Linked DNA regions of Homo sapiens: regions 1 and 2 are each linked to region 3. The links are contacts of gene promoters, found by promoter capture Hi-C in human tissues and cell types (Jung and others, 2019). All regions are on one chromosome and are shown on one strand. The core of a region is centred on a gene start or on the middle of the fragment in contact, and the rest is flanking DNA. Distances in the headings are between cores, read along the strand shown. Region 1 overlaps TRAPPC10 (trafficking protein particle complex subunit 10). Region 2 overlaps TSPEAR (thrombospondin type laminin G domain and EAR repeats). Region 3 holds the start of DNMT3L (DNA methyltransferase 3 like).

Region 1 (3,656 bases), core at 179-2,678, 180 kb before region 3:
GTCATAAGATAGTGCTACCCATGCATTCCTTTGCACAACTGCGAGATCTCCATTTTGATCCCTCCAATGCCGTGGTCCACGTGGGCGGCGTTTTGTGCGTTGAGATAACCATGTACAGCCAGATGCCTGTGCCTGTTCACGTGGAGCAGATTGTGGTCAATGTCCACTTCAGCATTGAGAAAAACAGCTACCGGAAGACTGCGGAGTGGCTTACCAAGCACAAGACGTCCAATGGGATCATTAACTTTCCACCCGAGACCGCACCTTTCCCTGTATCCCAAAACAGTTTGCCCGCGCTGGAGTTGTATGAAATGTTTGAGAGAAGCCCATCTGATAACTCCTTGAACACGACTGGGATTATCTGCAGAAACGTCCACATGCTCCTGAGAAGGCAGGAGAGCAGCTCCTCTCTAGAGATGCCCTCAGGGGTGGCTCTGGAGGAGGGTGCCCACGTGCTGAGGTGCAGCCACGTGACCCTGGAACCAGGGGCCAACCAGATAACATTCAGGACTCAGGTATGCGTTCAGGGTGGGAACTTGACTTTCAAGTTTGTAAAGCAGGGCCGTGGAGCTTACAAGAACTGTCTGGAGTGTGCTGTGAATTGAGTAGAGTCCTTTGTTCTCCTAACCCTGTTTTTGTCTCTGTCCTTATACAAAAATACACTGATGTTTTCTTTCGTGTTTTATACAATTTTCTGACATTTGATAAATTCTGAGTGAAGTTCTTAACGTAGATATTTGTTCTTAGATTAAGTTAGCTTTTTAACTCATTGGATTATTGGATTCAGTTAGCTTTCCCCCCTGCATATGAAAATACACACCCTCATTTGTTAAAATGAGCTTTCAAAGAAGGTGGTACACTTTCCCACTCAAACTTATTTTCCTTTTGTGGCTGGCTGGGTGTCAAAACTGGTGTTTCTCACCCACTCTAACATAAAGTTTTCTCTGACACAGGATATCCTGTAAGTTCCACTAACTCAACAGGATTTGGCCTGTGGAAAGTACAGCTATTTGTCACATTTTTTAGTCTAGGGCAGGGCTTAAATCTCGTGCTGAATGTCTCTACAATGCCACAAATACAGTTTAGATAAGTTGAAAATACCTTATTAAAGTTAAATTTAAGCATCAGTTACTCAGAAAATCACGAATTGAGAGATTCTGAGGGCCTTGTGAAGAGCCCAAGCTTAGAGGTTTAGGCACAAGAGCAGGGGGTACAAGAGGGAAAGAAGTACAGGCCTTTCTGGAGTTCAGAGAGACCGCTGCACCGCGCTACCGCAGGAAGCTAACTGCAAAACTGGGTGACGTGGTTTCAAATGCCTGATTCTTTGACTCTAGGCCAAGGAACCTGGAACGTATACACTCAGGCAGCTGTGCGCCTCGGTGGGCTCCGTGTGGTTCGTCCTCCCTCACATCTACCCCATTGTGCAGTACGACGTGTACTCACAGGAGCCCCAGCTGCACGTGGAGCCGCTGGCTGGTGAGTGGGGTCCCCAGCCTTTGAGGAGGCGTGCTGCTGGGGCAGTTCTGAGGAGACCTGCTGAGATGCCAGGCTTCTCATAAGTTTTAGCTGTGTCTGCCTTTAAGAGATATTTTGGGTAACATAATGGAAATTTTGCCTGGGAACTAGCTGACTGCCTCTTTTGTTTATCTGAATGTTTGCTTTCCTGTAATTGCTTTTTCATGTTTAATAAACATGGTGTATCTGAAAATAAGAAACACAGAAGAATTAGCTCTGAGAGTGGAAAAAAGAAACTCAAGGTATTTTTTTCTATTGGCTCACTCAACCTAATGGTCAATGCAGAGGACTTCTGGGCCCAAATGTGCAGGGATTTCCCCCTGCCAGCAAGCAAGCAGTCGGTCCTGCAATTCAGTTCTGACCCTGTCTACTGGAGCTGGCGTCAGACACCACAGGGTGAGGGCTCAGTCCCCAAGACAGTCCCCCCCTTCCCATGCCAGCCACCAGCCCAGGGTTCTTTTGCTTGTGCTCCTGACCAACTAGCTAGAAATCAGGGCTCTCACAACCCCCTTTCTGGGTTTGATGAATTTGTTAGAACAGCTCACAGAACTCAGGGAAACAGGTTGACTGGATTATTATAAGGGATATAGATGAAGAAGTGTGGAGGGTGAGGTATGGGGAAAGGGGTGCAGAGCTTCCACGCCCTCCCTGGGCGCCACCCTCCAGGAACCTCCATGTGTTCAGCTGCCTGAAAGCTCTCCAGACCCTGTCCTTTGGTTTTTATGGAAGTGACATTACACAGGCATGATCGATTACACCACTGGCCACTGATGAGCAACTCGACCTTCAGCCCCTCTTTCCTCCCTGGAGGTTGGGTGCCACTGCTGAAAGGCCCGACCCTCTAATCCTGCCCTGGTCATTCTGGTGACCAGTCCTCATCTTGAAGCTACCTTGGAGCTGCCAGCCTCCAATCAACTCATTAGCCTACAAAAAGACATCACTTTGGAGATTCTAAGGAATTTGGGAGCTAGTATGCCTGGAAATGGGGTTGAAAACTACATGTGTATTTTACAGTGTCACATTAGGCCAAGAAGCAGCTAATGTCTACCACAGGGTTTCATAAATATGTATATAATTTCCTGCTTAGAAGTACGTTTCAAATGCTAAACACTAGATTTAGTTAGGATCTATACTCAGATCCCAGCACTTTGGGAGGCCAAGGCTTTGAGACCAGCATGGGTAAGCCAGTCGGGGCAGGATGACAAAACCCCATCTCTGCAAAATAAAAAAATGAAGTAAATTAGCTGGGTGTAGTCGTGCGCCACGGCCTCTAGTCCTAGCTACAGGCTGGAGCCCCAGCTGAGGCTCCTGCCTCAGCCTCCTGAGCCCAGGAGTTTGAGGCCTCAGGGAGCTGTGATTGCGCCACTGTTCTCCAGCGTGGGTGACAGAACAAAACTCCATCTCTTAAAAAAAAAAAAAGTTTTCCTTTGAAAGGGTTGATTAAACTTGTCCGTCTGGCATGGCATTTGAGAAATTCAAAGCTATTGTCCTTTCTGATAAGTTCTAAAATTGGAAGGAGTTGCTATAAACAAATGATTGAAGAACATGTGGCAGCTGAACAAGAGTGAGTGAATGTCTCCTTTGTTCGGGCTAGCAACGATTTATTTATTTGCCTGTTTCTTCTACGTGGAAAAAAATCACAAAGGGCATTTTTCTGTTATTCCCCCATTCCCCCTATTTTTCTGCATTTGTGCCTCTTGTGTGGCCACCAGCAAAGGCTGTCAGATGTGGGACACAGCAGTCAGTCTCTCCAGTGATTCTTCCATTGGAACATTGTGTAGAGAAGCTGAACTCGATTCCCGCAGGGGAGCCGAAGCACCAGCCAGCAGGCCCTGCCCTCCCCATGGCCCAGCGGCTGCAGTGCCAGGCTCATGGCCTGGCTCCTGCTTCCTGCCTAGTGTCCCCTGTCTCTGTCCACTCTCCCCCCGGTCCTGGTATCTTGCCTGCCTTCTGTCTTCCCTGCAGCAGGATTCTCAGAGGCCTCAGCTCACTCCTGCCTCTCATTGCTGTCTTGGAGTGAGGGGGAGCCACCTGACTGCTGACTGTTCTTAACCCAAAAGCCCGTGGCCTGAAGCTGAAAAATCCAGAGAAGGTTTTGAATATTTGAGCAGCACCAGCACAGTCAAGTTTTCTTTACAGTC
Region 2 (3,459 bases), core at 495-2,994, 240 kb after region 3:
GGAGCCCAGCTCTCTGCCCGCTGCTCTGCGGCCCCACGTCAGGGGCTGCCCCAGGCCCTCATTCTTGCTCTGGGCGGCTGCTGGCCGCCAGGGTTTGCCTTCAAAAGGACTCATTTATCCCAGGAGCTTCCATTTCCGAGGCGTGGAGTCCCCAAGGCAGGGCGCCGACATCAAAGGGCACGAGTTGTTTACATTTAATATTAAATAATAAAGTATGAAAATAAATTCTTCCAGACTGCTTTCTGGAAAAACCGTGGTGGCTTCTGCTCTCACGGGAAAGGGCAGGGTGGGGTCCCCCTGGGATCCCCCAACCCACTCCACTGCCCATCTTTAACACACTTCCAAACAAATGGGGGAGAACCTGGCAGGGTTTTGCTTTGAGGACAAATCCCTTATAATGTTTATTCACACTGTTCATCTTTTCTTCTAAAAATTCATATTTATATCTTTTGTCCATTTTTCCAAATTTAAAGACACATTTTTTATTAGTTTGTAAGGGTTGGTTTTCTGTCGTGTGTGTGGTAAAGAGTTTGTCTTTTGCTTTTGAATAGGATGTCTGTTTCCATAGAAAGCTTTTAACACAGGTGGTCGACCCAGTGCCTTTCCTTCTGGGCTTGTCTTCTTCATAGAACCCTGAGGTTATACAACTGCCTTCAGCTTTTCTTCTTTTTCACATTTGGACTTTTAATCCATATAACATTTATTTTTGTGTACAATGTGAAGTGGGGGTAAGCTTTGTTTTCTTCCAGATTACATGAAGCTAATCTCCCGAATCATATGGAGTTATCAAGTAAAACCCATCCTTTTCTCATTGCCTTCAAATATAGCATTTATGGCCGGGCGGGGTGGCTTACGCCTATAATCTCAGCACTTTGGGAGGCTGAGGCGGGCAGATCACTTGAGGTCAGGAGTTCGAGAACAGCCTGGCCAACATAGTGAAACCCCATCTCTATTAAAAATACAAAAATTAGCCAGGCATGGGCTAGGCGCAGTGGCTCATGCCTGTAATCCCAGCACTTTGGGAGGCCGAGGCGGGCAGATCACAAGGTCAGGAGATCGAGACCATCCTGGCTAACACAGTGAAACCCCATCTCTACTAAAAAATACAAAACAATTAGCCAGGTGTGGTGGCAGGTGCCTGTAGTCCCAGCTACTCAGGAGGCTGAAGCAAGAGAATGGCGTGAACCCAGGAGGCGGAGCTTGCAGTGTGCCGAGACTGGGCCACTGCACTCCAGCTTGGGCGACAAAGCGAGACTCCATCTCCAAAAAGAAAAAATAAAATTAGCCAGGCATGGTTGGCCCATGCCTGTGGTCCCAGCGACTAGGGAGGCTGAGGTGGGAGGATTGCTTGAGCCTGGGAATTTCAGCCTGCAATGAGCTGAGGTTATGCCACTGCACTTCAGCCTGGGCTACAGAGTGAGACCCTGTCCCCCCCAAAAAATAAATAAGAAGGAGATATTATTAAAAAGGTACCCAGGCCCAGATGGCTTTATAACTGAATTTAACCCAGCTGTCAGAAATGAGAGAAAAAATCCTATTCTTCAGACTATCCCAGTCCACAGGTGCAGTTAGAAAGCCCTGCAGTGTGTATTTACTGTTAGGCTTCATTTTAAACTGGATAAAGTTAAGTCCCCAAAAGAAAACCACCGAGCAATCTAATTTCCTATTATAGATGCTAAAAGCTTAAAGACAGGCAATTGGAAGCCAGTGGCTTATTCAATAATTCTGCATCATCACCAAGTGGCATCGGGTCTAATAACGCGAGGAGATGTCTCACTATAAATCATGACATCAACAGTAAACATAGTGGACCGCACCACGCACTCACAGATGCCAAAGGAGACCTCAGCCCTGGCCCGGATGGCCCACAGCCCATCAAACGGCCATGCTCAGATGTGCTCGTTAAATTAGAGCAAGGTGGGACAGCTGCCACTTCTGCCGCCATCCAAGATTGTTCTGGAATCTTTAGCTAGGGAAGCAAGCTACATAATCAATTAGAACACTAGAAATCAAGGGGAAATGTTCTTTATTCTCAGAGGTAATTACATTCCTAAGTCCCCTGAGAATCTTTTTAAGAAAAGCTATTAGAACTGATTGGTTAGGGGGCGAGAAAATGATTGTCATGATGAGCAGCTGCAAATGAAAGTTAAAAAGCCAACCCCATTCGTTAAACGTACGATACTTGGAAAACTCCTGGAAATAAATGAGAACACCACAGTGTCTATGAGAGAAAAATTAAATATCAACAACTCCCATGTTAGGATGTCCACACGCCGCATCCCTGACAGAATCCAAAGGCAGAAGCACCAGCACTCGTGGGTTGTGGCTACACCCGGGGCAGGGCCCCAGCTCAGATCCCACACGGGTGCAGCCAGCGCCGGGCCATCCACTGGGCCCAGCCAATCTCGGAAATGACACCTGACTTGGGACTCGCTGTGAGCCGGTGGCACCTGCGAGAGAAGGTGAGCCCCCGGGGGGAAGCAAGGCTCTGGGAGGAGGCCGGCCTCGGTGAGCCCTTGGGGGGAAGCAAGGCTCTGGGAGGAGGCCGGCCTCGGTGAGCCCTCGGGGAAGTAAGGCGCTGGGAGGAAGCTGGCCTCAGTGAGCCCTCGGGGAAGCAAGGCTCTGGGAGGAAGCTGGCCTCGGTGAGCCCACAGTGGGGAAGCAAGGTGCTGGGAGGAAGCCGGCCTCGGTGAGCCCTCGGGGGGAAGCAAGGCTCTGGGAGGAAGCTGGCCTCGGTGAGCCCTCAGGGGGAAGCAAGACTCTGGGAGGAGGCCGGCCTCGGTGAGTCCTCGGGGGGAAGCAAGGCTCTGGGAGGAGGCCGGCCTCGGTGAGCCCTTGGGTGGAAGCCGGCCTTGGTGAGCCCACAGGGGGGAAGCAAGGCGCTGGGAGGAGGCCGGCCTTGGTGAGCCCACGGGGGGAAGCAGTGTGCTGGGAGGAAGCTGGCCTCGGTGAGCCCTCGGGGGGAAGCAAGGCTCTGGGAGGAGGCCGGCCTTGGTGAGCCCTCGGGGGGAAGCAAGGCTCTGGGAGGAAGCCGGCCTCGGTGAGCCCTCGGCGGGAAGCAAGGCTCTGGGAGGAGGCCGGAGTTGGTGAGCCCTCGGGGGGAAGCAAGGCTCTGGGAGGAAGCCGGCCTCGGTGAGCCCTCGGGGGGAAGAAAGGCTCTGGGAGGAGGCCGGCCTTGGTGAGCCCTTGGGGGGAAGCCGGCCTTGGTGAGCCCACAGTGGGGAAGCAATGTGCTGGGAGGAAGCTGGCCTCGGTGAGCCCTCAGGGGGAAGCAAGGCGCTGGGAGGAGGCCGGCCTTGGTGAGCCCTTGGGGGGAAGCCGGCCTTGGTGAGCCCACAGCGGGGAAGCAAGGCTCTGGGAGGAAGCCGGCCTCGGTGAGCCCTCGGCGGGAAGCAAGGCTCTGGGAGGAGGCCGGAGTTGGTGAGCCCTCGGGGGGAAGCAAGGCTCTGGGAGGAAGCT
Region 3 (3,756 bases), core at 914-3,413:
ACTGTGTTTTCCCAGTGCTGTCAAATACAGCAGACGATTAGGAATAAATTTAGCCAAACAAATATGAGACTTATACACTGAAAACTGCAAAGTATTGTTGGAAGATGTTAAGGAAGATGGAACAAAATGGAAAGATATCCCATGTTCATGGATCAGAAGATTTAACATTGGCTGGGTGTGGTGGCTCATGCCTGTAATTCCAGCACTTTAGGAGGCTGAGCAGGAGAATCACTTGAACCTGGTAGACAGAGGTTGCTATGAGCCAAGATCATGCCTCTGCACTCCAGCCTGGGGGACAGAGTGAGAGTGTGTCTCAAAAAAAAAAAAAAAAAAAAAAAGAAGAAGACTTAATATTGTTAAAATAGCATGAGTCCCCAAATGGAGCTGCAGAGCCCTCTCAAAATCCCAGCTGGCTTTTGGGCAGGAGTTGACAGGCTGATCCTAAATTCATACGGAAATGCAAAGGATCCAGAAAAGGCAAACCCACGTTGAGAGAAAGTCGAGGAGTGGTTGCCTAGAGTTAAAAGAAGGGAAGCAAGAAGGGGGAATTTGGAGTGACTGTTACTAGACATGGGTTTTCTTTTCAGGGTGATGAAAACCTTCTAAAATTAGATGGTGATGATGGTTGCTGACTCTGTAAATAAACTAAAATACATTAAACTATATGCTTTAAATGAAGCTACAGGGGCCTTGGGAGGGGGAGAAGGGATACACGTGGCACAGTGGTGTCCACTGCCTCCTTCCAGGATCTCACCGTCACCCAGGCTGGAGTGCAGTGGTGTTATCATAGCTCACTGCAGCCTCGACCTCCCCAGCTCAAGCAATCCTCCCAACTCAGCCTCCTGAGTAGCTGGGACTACAGGTGCATGCCACCATGCCTGGTTAATTTTTATTTTTATTTTTTTGTAGAGACAGAGTCTCACTATGTTGCCTAGGCTGGTCTCAAACTCCTGGGCTCAAATGATCCTCCCACATTGGTCTCCCAAAGTGCTGGGATTATAGGTGTGAGCCACTGTGCCCCGTCTCTTTTGTCTGGTGTGGGCCAGTATGCAAACACTCACCTTCTATATTTCGCTGGTTAGCCTTGACTTCATATGCAATAAGATCTGGAAAGGAAGATAAGAAGTAGCCCCTTTCTTCTTCCTCTGATCTCTTAATTTAAATTCGGCCAGGAAGTGAGCATCACAATTCGTTTTCCAAAGTCACAGGAGCCTGAGGTCCCCTGCCATCCCGCCCTCACACCTTATCTTGGTGTGTTAAACGCCCATACCTGGGGGAAGACTGTGGGTGGGGAACCTCCTGCCCCAGCCCGGGTGCCTGAATAATGCATGAATACTCCAGAAGCCTGGAACTCCAGACCTCATCCAGGCCTGGGATCAGCATCCTAAGTGACTGGTCCAATAAGCAGATGAGCCCTCACCTCTGCCTGTCCCGGGTGAAACGGAGCTTGAGAGCTCACTGGATCCCACCAAAATCACGTCCATGCTGGGCTCGGCCTCTGGGTCCAGGGCTGGGATGGCCGCCATGGGGATGCTGTGTCAGGACACACGGACACAGATGTGAGAAAGCCGTCAGCCCCTGCTCAGATCCCTGATGCACCCCAGCACGGGAAGCAGCTTGCTGAGCAGACCTTGACTAGTTCAGGCCACCTGAACCCCCGCGGTGACACCCACCTGCCCAACCCAGGGATGAGGGGCAGGACAGCCAAGGCCAGTGCCAGCCCTGAGAGGGGCTCAAGGGTCCCCTGAGGCGTGCCCCCCACCTGCCTGGCCCTGTTACAACATGGAAGATGGGGCAAAAAGGGGAGGGCAGGGCCCTCATGAGGACCTGGGGCCAATGGCCGCTGCAGCCCCTGCTTTCCTCTGGGCCCAGCCTTCGACCCCTCAGGGACTCCCATGCCCCAGCCTCCTACAGTGTCCCTCAGGCCCAGCAGGGACCCCTGGGGATGGTCTTGGCCAGCCGCACCCTTGAAGGCAGCATGGTCAGGGAGTAGGAAAGAGACTCACAGGGCTGCTGCCACGGCTCCGGGTACAGCCAGCTGGTGGGTTCAAGGTTCCAGTGGTCCGGGGCTTCCAGGCTCAGGGTCCCCGGGGAGGACTGGGCCATGGAACGAGGGACGGCGCAGGCAAAGAATGAGCTGGAAGGATCCAGGCCCACCTGGGACAGCGGGTGGCCAGAGGTCACCAGGCTATGGGGGCAAAGAATCTGGGCGTGTCCCGCGGGGGCGGGGAGGGGCGGGGGCGGGGCAGCCCTTCAGTGCCGGTTTGCAGTGGGAGGGGCGAGGAGCTGCGGGGGGTCACTTGGGGTGGGGAGCTAGGAAGCTGGGGGACGGGCAGGGAAAGGGAACCCTCAGGTGGGGAGGGTTAAGAGCTCAGTGGGGCTGGGGGATTGGGGTTCAGAGGATGGGGCCCTCAGGGTGGAGTGAGGGGTGGGGTTTGGGGACCTCAGTGGGGAGTGGGGTTCAGGGGAGGGGTGGAGATGGGAGGACTGGGGATGGGGCAGATGAGGGGGGTTTCAGTAGAGGGGGGCCCTTGGGGTGGGGTGGGGGATAGGGGTGGCTGTGGGGTAGGGGCAGGGCGCTCAGAGGTGGGGTTTAGGAAGGTCATAGGGGTGGGCTTCAGGGCAAGGGTGAAGAAAGGGATGAGGGTGGAGGGTGGAGGGGTGGAGGGGTGGAGGGTGGAGGGTGGAGGGTGGAGGTAGGGCAGGGCGGGGGGTTAGGTGGAGTTGGCCCCCTGGGTGGAGATGGGTGAGGATTAGTGGAGGTGGCCCTCAGGGCAGGGTGGGTGGGTGGAGGGCGGGGCTTAGGGAGATCTGTTGGGGGATTAGGGAGTGGGGGTGGGGGTGGATGCTGAGTTGGAGATGGGGGCCTTCAGGGGAGGTGGTCCTTTGGCGGGATGGGGGTGATGATAGGGTGAGGGTGGGCACTCCGGGGCAGGGCTCAGTGGCGGGGGTCGGGGCTCAGGGCAAGGGTAGAGACGGGGTGAAAGTAGGAATGGGGGTGTGAGGCCGAGGATGGGGGTTTCAGGGGAGGTGGCCTTTAGGGCAGGATAGGGGTGAGAATGGGGTGGGGATGGGCCTCAGGGATCTCAGGGTCGGTTGGGATGGGAGTGGGGGTGGGGGTAGATGGTGAGGAGGAGATGGGGGTGTTCAGGGGAGGTGGTCCTCTGGCGGGATAGAGGGAGGGGCGTTCAGGAGCCGGGCTTGGGAGCTCAGTCTGGAGCCCCAGGTTTGGGGGGCAGCTGTGGGGGAGAGAAGGAAACAGGGAAGGCCCTGGAGGATGGGGTAAGGGGTGTTGGGTGGGGAATGTCAGGGCAGGTGGGGGGTTGGGGAGCTGGGAGGGGTAGGTTCAGGGTGGGGGTGGAACGTGGAAGCAGGGAAGGGAGCAGGAAGGTGGGGTGGGCAGAGGGGCAGTGTGGGAGGTGCGGGGTGGGTTGGGAAGGGGGACTTTGTTGGAGGGAGGTTAGGGGCTTCAGAGCAGGGGGCGGAGGACCGCCGGGCAGGGCTGGAGCCACAGGACAATTGTGCTGGTCGAAAGTGGGAGAAGACCCTTGCGGGAGGTAACCCCCCTGAAGTGTGGGCTGGGCCTGGTGACTTCCTTCTGCAAGTACTGCATGAGGGGTGACCACACAGGGGCAGCCTGATGACCCCTTGGCCCCTGGCCCAGGCCAGCGTCTCGGGGAGGATTCGCCTGGGTGGGTGCCCCGCACCGGGGCTTTCTCCCCCCACCCACAGCCCAGCCTCTCCAGGAGTGAACTG

Evidence for each region. Contacts are between HindIII fragments. The study calls those that stand out against the background at their distance.
Region 1: a fragment that was not itself captured here is called in contact with the fragment with the promoter of DNMT3L in region 3 in 1 of the 25 tissues and cell types used here (lymphoblastoid cells).
Region 2: a fragment that was not itself captured here is called in contact with the fragment with the promoter of DNMT3L in region 3 in 2 of the 25 tissues and cell types used here (dorsolateral prefrontal cortex and spleen).

The regions. Positions count from the first base shown.
Region 1 is chr21:44,082,788-44,086,443 of GRCh38, forward strand. TRAPPC10 (trafficking protein particle complex subunit 10) reads left to right here. Exons shown (of 23, transcript NM_003274.5): 14 at 1-515; 15 at 1,335-1,476. Among named protein-coding and RNA genes, the nearest start is that of PWP2, 23 kb to the right of the region's middle. The HindIII fragment of the contact is 7,855 bases long and covers 1-3,656 here.
Region 2 is chr21:44,500,334-44,503,792 of GRCh38, forward strand. The region is part of intron 11 of TSPEAR (thrombospondin type laminin G domain and EAR repeats); the gene reads right to left. Among named protein-coding and RNA genes, the nearest start is that of TSPEAR-AS1, 4.0 kb to the right of the region's middle. RefSeq lists an enhancer at 2,829-3,348. The HindIII fragment of the contact is 6,330 bases long and covers 1-3,459 here.
Region 3 is chr21:44,259,734-44,263,489 of GRCh38, forward strand. It overlaps DNMT3L (DNA methyltransferase 3 like), which reads right to left and starts at 2,164. Exons shown (of 12, transcript NM_175867.3): 1 at 2,007-2,164; 2 at 1,421-1,533; 3 at 1,062-1,106. The coding sequence starts at 1,526. RefSeq lists an enhancer at 1,879-2,438. The HindIII fragment of the contact is 12,940 bases long and covers 1-3,756 here.